2 separate regions of the Homo sapiens genome follow, and region 1 is linked to region 2. Evidence: promoter capture Hi-C in 16 types of primary human blood cells and fetal thymus (Javierre and others, 2016). All regions are on one chromosome and are shown on one strand. Each heading gives the region's core, a stretch centred on a gene start or on the middle of the fragment in contact. The rest is flanking DNA. Distances are from core to core; before and after follow the strand shown.

Evidence for each region. Contacts are between HindIII fragments. The CHiCAGO score rates a contact against its expected background, and 5 or more counts as called.
Region 1: a fragment that was not itself captured here is called in contact with the fragment with the promoter of TEDDM1 in region 2 in 1 of 17 cell types (megakaryocytes); the score reaches 6.3 in megakaryocytes.

The regions. Positions count from the first base shown.
Region 1 is chr1:182,300,268-182,305,159 of GRCh38, forward strand. The region is part of intron 2 of LINC01344 (long intergenic non-protein coding RNA 1344); the gene reads right to left. Among named protein-coding and RNA genes, the nearest start is that of LINC01344, 11 kb to the right of the region's middle. RefSeq lists an enhancer at 1,442-1,959 and a silencer at 3,717-3,766. The HindIII fragment of the contact is 4,098 bases long and covers 88-4,185 here.
Region 2 is chr1:182,398,620-182,403,251 of GRCh38, forward strand. TEDDM1 (transmembrane epididymal protein 1) reads right to left here and starts at 2,048. Exons shown (of 1, transcript NM_172000.4): 1 at 1-2,048. The coding sequence starts at 1,866. The coding sequence ends at 1,045. The HindIII fragment of the contact is 8,350 bases long and covers 1-4,632 here.

The DNA.
Region 1 (4,892 bases), core at 887-3,386, 98 kb before region 2:
TGGGGTGACAGACACACCCCGATTTTTGAAGGGAATGAGCTTATGAGGTCAGGGAGGAAGGGGGAATTGGGGGCTGGGGAGAAGCAAAGCTTGGAGTAAACTTCCCAGAACTGCAGAGGGTGGCTGAGACCACCCACTCTTCTTACATTGTCACTGTGGTCAGAGCCTTGAGCCACTGTCAAGTGTTGGATTCAGAGTGGGTGGGTGTCCAAGGAGAAGAAACTGGAAACAGCAGGGAGGAAAGGGCAGGCACAAAAGTGTTGTGGGTAATTCCTTCTGGGAGAATTGATAACTTTTGCATTCATCTGGCAGGGCCCTCTGGAAGCAGCAATAAGTTGACATCTGTTCTTTAGCTACTAATGCCAAATAGATTACTTGACAGTAGTTTAATATGCACAACTAGGAACTCTGTGTGTGTGTGTGTGTGTGTGTGTGTGTGTGTGTGTTGGTGGAGGGTGGGTGGGTGGAAAGGGAGCAAGAGGGAAGATCTTTTGAGAGGGTAAGAGGACTATCTGCATTCCTCCAAATTTCTGGAGAAAGAACTCAATAACAAATTCAGAAAAGTATATTAAGTCCTGGGGGATTCTGAGCCAATCTTCCCACAGCTGGATATGTCAACATCTGTCCTTCGGTCCTCCTTGTCCTCAATTTTTTTTTTTTGGAAAATTGACCCCATTTTGATAAGAATGTCTGTGTTTTTGAAAAACATAACCCATCACATATGATCTCCATGGCAATGATATTTTGCTATAGGAGGCAGTAGTAGGATGTGGTGGTAAGAACATGCACCTCAGAACCAGACACCTGGGTAAAAGTCTGACACTGACAGTTACAAGCTGGGTGAGCAGTCTGATCACTTGCCAAGTTGGGTGACACTAGTTCCTCGCTCACACAGTTGTTGTAAGAAATGAATGACAGGTTCAGAGAACACGCAGTAGAATAAAAAAGAAAGAAAGAAAGAAAGAAATGAGTGGGCATATGCACCGTGCTGAAACACAGAGACTGGCACGTAGTCAGTACTGCATAAGGTCAGCACCCTCCGTATGACCCCACCCCAAATCCAGCCACTCCGGGTATGTCGTGATGAACTAAGCATTAGAGCATGGGGCCTAACGATGGCATGGCTGCAGGCCAAATCCTGCCTGCTGCCCACTTAGCCCAAGAGTTAACATTTTTCTAAATTTTTTAATCACTGGGGTACGAAAAGTCAAAAACAAGAATAGCATTTCATGCCACATGAAAAACATATGAAATTCAGACTTCAGTGTTCATAAATGAGTTTTCTGAAGCACAACCACACTCATTTGTTTATGTATCTTCTCTAAGACTGCTTTTCCGCTGCAATGACAGAGCTGAGCAGGTACAACACAGATGTATGACCCACAAAGCCTAGAATATCTACTATCCGGCCTTTTACAAAAAAAGTTTCATCAGCCTTGCATTAGAGGATCAGCAGTCCAATTCCAGCCCTGCTTCCCACCTTCCAAATAGAGATAACACCTTCTCTGTCACTGAAAAACCCTCACCAGCATGCACGCGCGCGCACACACACACACACCACACACACCACTTGGCTTATTCACCGTGATGCTGTTAACACCAGCTGGCCTCCACTTTGGAAAGTGTAAGACCAGATTAGGCTATAAAGCATTACTGTTATTTTCTGAGCAAGCACTTGGGGGTGGTGCAATCCCAGTCAACACTACTGAAACAACTCAATGTGCTCTTTGTTCTCCAAGTCCTTGATCTTTCGTTCTTATTACAACTTCTCAGGGCCTGCTGTGTTCATTTGAACTGGTTCAGCTGGAAAAAATATGAGTTGGGTTTTGTTTATACCTTAATCAGCTGACTAGAAAGGGGTTAGAAAGAAGAGAGTGAGGAAGCATTAAAATGCATACATTATTGAGTGTTTGCTATATGCCAGGCACTCTGGAATTACAGTAATGTATTAATAAGGAAAGGTCCCTGAGAGAGGGAGAGACAAACAAAAAGGCAAGTAGTTATAAAATAATCCAATAATTCCTATACAGAGACATAAACAAAGCGCTGAGGGAACAAAAAATAATTTATTCTACTAGGTTTTGAAGAGGAGCATCAAGAAAAGTCACAGGGGGTGACAGCTTTGGCCTAGGAGGCTTTGAAGAGTGGGGAAAGTTGGTTAGGTGAGAAGAGAGGGTTTATCCTTGGTAGAACAGGAAAATAACAGTGGCAAAAGCAAAGAGGGAGGAGGACATGTATGGCATGTTCAATCAGCAGGGAGTGCAGGAGGAGACTCCAGGAGACAAGCTGGGGCTGCACTGCAGAGGAGCCTCTGTACCACCCTCAGGGGATGGCACTTTATCCTGGAGGTGATGGAGAGTCTTTGCAGATTTTTAAAAGGGGAGAGAGAAAATCACATGTGTGCTTTGAAGATGATCATTATGGGAAGCAACGTGGAGGGATGTGCTGACACAAAGAAAACCTGGATTTAAAAAAGGGCTGGGCACGGTGGCTCATGCCTGTAATACCAGCACTTTGGGAGCCAGAATGGGGGGATCACTTGAGGTCAGGAGTTCGAAACCAGCCTAACCAGCATGGTGAACTCCCATCTCTACTAAAAATATGAAATTAGTCAGGTGTGGTGGCACATGCCTGTAATCCCAGCTACTTGGGAGGCTGATGCAAGAGAATCGCTTGAACCCGGGATGCGGAGGTTGCAGTGAGCTGAGATCACACCATTGCACTCCAGCCTGTGCAACAAGAGCAAAACTCTATCTCAAAAAAAAAAAAAAAAAAAAAACAACGAAACAAAACAACAAAAAAGTCATGGGTGATGGATGATAGCAAAGTGTGGTGGGAAGAAAGATCTTGGATGTAGAGTTCATCGAACTTCACAATATATTGAACTCACAGTTGAAAGAGAGGGAAGAGTATGAGGATAAATCCCAGGTTTCTGGAGTGGGTACCTGGACAAATATTGGTGCCATTAATTGAGACAGGAAATGGTGGAGGAGTAGCAGTTTGACTGGGGATGAAAAAGATATTTGGGCTTATAATGTGGTATTCGACTTGTAGCATATGACATGGTTTTAGGTCATCCAGGTTAAGAAATCCAGCAGGCAATTACTGATACTCTAGGTCTAGAGCCCAGAAGATGCAGGAGCTAGAAATAGACATTTAATAACTTTCAGTATATGATGCATGACAGCAGAGGACCCGTGCATCATTCATGCATGGGCTCAGCAAGTGTGGAAAAAATAATCTACAATTAGAATCCTAGGGAATACCAGCATCTAATTGGATGCAAGGCAAGAGAAGCCAACTAAGATGGGAAAAAAGGAGAACCCAGAATGAAAAGTATTGCCAAAGCCTCGAAGAAGGATGTTTCAGAAGTTTCTCTGCCACTGGAGAGGGTCAAGAGAATTAAAAAAAAAAAAACAAACAAACAAAACCCCACAAAGCACAAACTCTCTCAAATAATGGATTCCCATAAAGCCCACTTGGAATTCTGTGAAAGGGTGTCACCTTGGAGAGTTATAAAAATCAATTGGCCTGCTTCCAGAACTCAGTGCCTAGGGTTAATAAACTGGAAAGCAGAGGTGTTTTCCAAGACAGACAATTGGTTTTGATGGGCACCAAAAAGCAGCTGTTGGGTTTGCAAAAAGGAGTCATTGGTGACTTAGCCAGGAAACATTTCAGTAGAGTAATAGGAGCAGAGACAAATTTACATGGTTTCAGAAGTCAGTGGATTTGAAGAAATAGAAACAAGAAGTAAAGCATGCACTTTCAAAAGTGGCATTTCTACAACTGTTTTATGCTTTCCTCGTTTCTTTTTCTCTCTCTCTTAAACACCAATTGTCTGTCCTGGAAAACACTTCTGCTTTCAATTCACTGGGTGCTGTTTTCCGAAAATAGACCAATCCATTCTCATAACTCTCCAAGATCACATTTACCCTTTCACAGAATTCCAAGAGGGTCTTACAGGAACCCATGATTTGCAGGGTTTTTGCTCTTGCCAAAAAAGTGTTTCTAGAGAAAATCAACAAAAAGATTGAAAAGTCCCTGGGGGAGTGAGGGTACACCCCACAGGATGGGTACCTCTGTAAAGGGGTCTGCCATGGGTCTGCGTAGGGAGTCAGTCCTCCTCTCTCTCCAGTGAATGGCACGGTGCCAGTGAAGAAGGAAAAGGGGGCGGCTGCACTCTCAAGCTTCTCTTCTAACACCAAGCTTTCTTTCCTACTTTAGCTTGAGACCAACAAAAAGTGGAGAACTTAGGGTAGTGTGGGACCAGGTCCCTGGTGAGCTGGGTTCTAGTTCCAGCTCTACTTCTTATCCCCAGGTTCTACCAAAGAGAGAGTTTTCCTACTCTAGTTTGATTTCTTAAAATACAAATATGATTAATACATTTGCTTAAAACCTTCAGTGTGGTTTCACCTTGCCCTAGAATTAAGTTCAGTATCCTTAGTAGGAACAAACAGCACCTTCCACATCTAATAGCTGCTAGATCTCTCCTCCAATTCTCTTGTCCAAACAAGTGGAATTTTTTTCTTCCAAAGCAACATGCTGTTCTCTCTCCTTGTGGCTTTGAAATGTACTAATCCTCTCCCTAGAGGCCTCAGTTTTCACACTTTATCTGGCAACCTTGAACTCCTCTCAGTTTTGATGCCAGCTTCTTCAGGGAACTCTTTTCAATTCCCTAGGCTTGGTTAGACCCCTAGATCAGATTATATGTTTATTTCCTAGCACTCAAATGCCTTGTGTCAGTTGTTTAAGGTCAGTCTCTCCTACTAGAATATTAAGCATCCATCAGGGCAGGGAGCTGGTCTGCCTTTTTACTACTACGACCCTAGCACCAAGCATCAAAAAATGAATAACATGTTCTTTTGTTCATTCATTCATTCAATATGTTGTAA
Region 2 (4,632 bases), core at 798-3,297:
AAATATGTGACTGTAGGATGACTGGCTGTGATTTGCAAGGAAAAGAAATTTGCAAAGACCCAAGAATGGTATCTGCTAAATTGCATGTGCAAGGGTGGTCATGGTGAAAAGGAAAGTTTGGGCTAGAATAAGAGTAATAAAATGAGAAGTCAGGGAAGTACCAAGCATTTGAATGCTATAAAAATGCTATAGCAGTTGAATTCTATACAAATTTAAATTATGGAAATTTGAAATGTTATTAAGTATTTAAAAAGTCTCACTTTATATGTAAAGTTTGAAATGAAGCCAATTCTTGAAAGCTGCGGAGAGAGAAGGAGGCAAAGCGAGCATAATTTCAGCCTGTATGAATTAATTATAAATTCTATCATGCTATTTCCACATGGTGGCACCACTTTGGTGAGCACGTAAAGTACCCACTTTTCTTTATCAAGATGAGATTTGAATGGGTCCAGTTTTGAGTTGTGAGAAGTCTTTATTCCCTCAGGTAAAAGGCAATCCCTTGTGCCTGATGACGCTAATGACAGCATAACTGCTAGACTCTGTTCTCCTCCCTTCACAGCTCTTCCTTTTGTTGCATTCTCTTCCCCCAGTGGCTTTTCTTGCACACTAAGAAGAAGTGTTCTCCTCGTCCTTTTCCCTCCCTCCCGCAAATCCCATCAGCGTCTCTTTCTCAATCCCTCTCCCCTTATCTTCTCAGTAATTAGAGGCTCAGGGACAGAAAATGCACCAGCACGGGCATGGTGGCAGGCTCCTGTAATTGCAGCTACTCGGGAGGCTGAGGCAGGAGAATCGCTTGAACTCGGGAGGCGGAGGTTGCACTGAGCTGAGATTGTGCCATTGCACTCCAGGCTGGGCAACAGAGCGAGACTCTGTCTCAAAAAAAAAAAAAAAGAAAAGAGAAGAAAAGAAAATGAACCAGCAGACGGGACCAACTGCTAGCCTTCAAGGCCATTACCTTTACCAAGGAGGGTACCATGCTCGTGGCTGAGGAGCCAACAGGAGGAAGATGAGGTGGACGATGTGCCAGCCACTGTAGGCCCTGTCTCAGGGGGAGCTCTTTGGAAGGAGGAGAGCCTGGTCCTCTTTCTCTGACTGCTCCACTTCCTGTAGCAACTTGTAGAGGGGTCCTGGAGTGCTTGCATAATATGGAGCTTCTTTGGGCCCAGTCAGCTTCAAGCTGGGTCTGAAACAATGATACCAAAAGGAAGAGAAGCCATAGATTCCCAACAGGAATGAGGCATTGATCATCACATGCCAGCAGAAGAAGGTGGTGACAAACATGATGTCACTGATGTCATCGTCCTGCCATGGGTAGCCAGAGACGGGTCTGTATAGAATAAAGCCTGCCTGCATCAGCCAGGAGCCCATCATCAGAATCAGAAAGGTCTCCATCAGCTGGAGATGACACATGTTGGGAGCCCACAGCTCTGCAGTCAACACCAGCAACAGCAGGAACACCACCAAGATGAGCAGAGAATAAACGTGCAGCTCCACCCCTTCTGAATCTTTAACATGTGACACCATCAGCAGCAGGAGCTCGTAGATGATCAGGACCAGGGTACCTTTTTCTAGGCCCACACACCTCTGAGGCAGCACATTCTTGCTCATGAAGTCCACACAGCCATTAAGAGTGAGGAGGATGAACATGGTGAGGTGCTGCCACTCTTTGGGGTACATGAACCTTGATGGCACTTGCTTCCTCATGAGCACCATCCCGCCATCAAGACAGAGAACCACATAAAATGTTAAGAGGGAGCCAGTCACTATCTTTAGTAATCCTCCATAGGCTATTTTCCACAGCCTGGCACATCTTTGCTTATTCCTGGGAGAGCACAAAGGATACAGGAGACAACCTTTGAGTATCATGCCCTTGGAGACCACTGTGGCCTGATATAGTCCATAAGAGAAAAGAAATAGCCCCAGTTAAAAATGGCCAATGGACTTTCCCATGGAATACAGGCCTGTCCGACTGAAGCGTGAAGAGCAATACTCAGGACCTCTCTGCTCTCCTCTCCCTCACAGGCCTCTCGAGTTCTGGGCCTATATATACAGAGCTAAGTTCTACCTACTTTTATCATCTCCTTCTGCCCACTGCTCTCTCACAGACTGGAAAGTTCTGGACAGGAGCCTAGGTTTTTAGTGAGGTGGGTCTCATTGTTCCATTTCATTCCAGTACACTGGGAACTAATTGAGTTCTGCCAAAGTAGAAACATAAATATTTTTTAGTATGCACCTGTGGGAATTTGTGCTCTCAGGAGCTCTGCTTTTGGACCCTTGAGGACCTTCTGGTTACACTTGTCCCTCTCTCTCATGGCTTGCTTCCTTCTGCCCCTGTTCAATGCTCGGAGTAGAAAAAGAGAGGTGCCTGAGCACGGAGATTATCCAGAGAAGACCCGGGTTACTCACAAACCTTAATGCATCCTTTAAGACTCCTTACTCGGACAGGCATGGTGGCTCAAGCCTGTAATCCCAGCACTTTGGGAGGCCAAGGCAGATCTCGAGGTCAGGAGTTCGAGATCAGCCTGGCCAACATGGTGAAATCCCATCTCCACTAAAAATACAAAAACTAGCTGGGCATGGTAAAGAGTGCCTGTAATCCCAGCCACTTGGAAGGCTGAGGCAGGAGAATTACTTGAACCCGGGAGGCGGATGTTGCAGTGGGCCAGGATCATCTCACTACACTCCAGCCTGGGTGACAGAGCGAGACTGTCTCAAAAAAAAAAAAGACTCCTTACTCATATGTTGGGTCATATACTGAGAGCAAATACATTCTTCCTAGACATAAAAGTTTATAAACGTTTGGATGTGTGCTCATATATATAGATACTGAGCTCTTGTCCTCTTCATTCTTCTGTAACAGTTTTTGGGGATCACAAAGAAAGCAGCTCAATTGCCCCAAATTATCTTTCCAAAGAACAGTAGATGAATGTAAAATGTCACCTTTTGAGATCAATTTTGGAATGTTAAGGTATAATTTTTTATTAAAATGCAGATATGTTGAGATAAGTAGATCCAACAAACTGCTTATATTTTAATGTGAATTAGGTCCTCAACTTTATTCTCTCTTTAATTATCATTTACTATGTGTCTAACACATATAGGCAGAAAGAGTTCTAAGCACTAGGTAGCAGCCAGCTGCATATGAGGGGTTGCATCCAAGGCAAGAGTCTTCATTTATTTATTTTTATTTCTATTTTTATTTTTATTTTTAGACAGTGTCTCGCTTTGTTGCCCAGGTTGCAGTGCAGTGGCTTGATGACGGCTCACTGCAGCCTCAACCTCCTGAGCTCAATCAATCCTCCTGCCTCAGCTGCTGAGTAGCTGGGACAACAGACATGAGCCACCACATCCAGCTATTTTTTGTAGAGATGAGGTCTCACTACATTGTCCATGCTGGGTCTCAAACTCCTGGGCTCAAGTGATCCACCCACCTCAGCCTCCCAAAGTACTGGGATTACAGGCGTGAGCCACCGTACCTGGCCCCATTTATTTATTTATTCATTATTTTTTATTTTTTAAAATGAAAGCACATTTATTAAGAAAAAAAGGAATAAAAGAATGGCTACTCTATAGGCAAAGCAGCCCCCATTTATTTTTTTTATAAAAATTAATGTCTATATAGCCCCTCCTTATCCATGGGTGATACTTTCTAAGACTCCCAGTGGATGCCTGAAACCTGGGATAGGTTAGTACTGAACCCTACATATACTGGTTTCCCCATACATGTATACATACCTATAATAAAGTTTAGTTTACAAATTAGGCACAGCAAGAGATTAGCAATAATAACTCAAAATAAAATAGAACAATTATAAAATGATGCTGAAATAAAAGTGTGAATATAATTTCTCTCTCTCTCTCTCAAAATACTATAATATTTTCAGACTGCAGTTAACTGTGAGTAACTGAAACCTAAGAACATGAAACTGCAGGTAAGGGAGGACTACTGTATTTAAAGTGTACCACATTTTTTGTTTGTTTGTTTTTTGTTTTGAGACTGAGTCTGTCTCTGTTGCCCAGGCTGGAGTGCAGTGGCACGATCTCAGCTCACTGCAACCTCTGCCTGCTGGGTTCAAGCAATTCTCCGGACTCAGCCTCCCGAATAGTCGGGACTACAGGTGCATGCCACCACACCGCTTAAATTTTCTATATTTTTAGTAGAGATGGGGTTTCACCATGTTGGTCAGGCCGGTCTCGAACTCCTGACCTCAGGCGATCCACCCACCTTGGCCTCTCAAAGTGCTGGGATTACAGCCATGAGCCACCATGCCCAGCTGAGGTTCATCCATATTGTTGCAAACAGCAGGACCTCCTTCTTTTTTAAGGCTGAATAATATACCATTATATATATGTTTCTTTACTTATCCATCTGTTGGTGGATCCATCTGGGCTCAAGTGATCCACCCGCCTCAGCCTCCCAAAGTACTGTGATTACAGGCATGAGCCACCATACCTGGCCCCAACTTAGGTTGTTTCTGTATCTTGATTATTGTAACATAAGAGTGCAGATATCTCTTTGAGATACTGATTTCATTTAATTTGGATATATACCAAGGAGTGGGATTGCTGGATCATATGATAGTCCTTTTTTAATTTTTTGAGAAACTTCCATACTGTTTTTCATAATGGCTG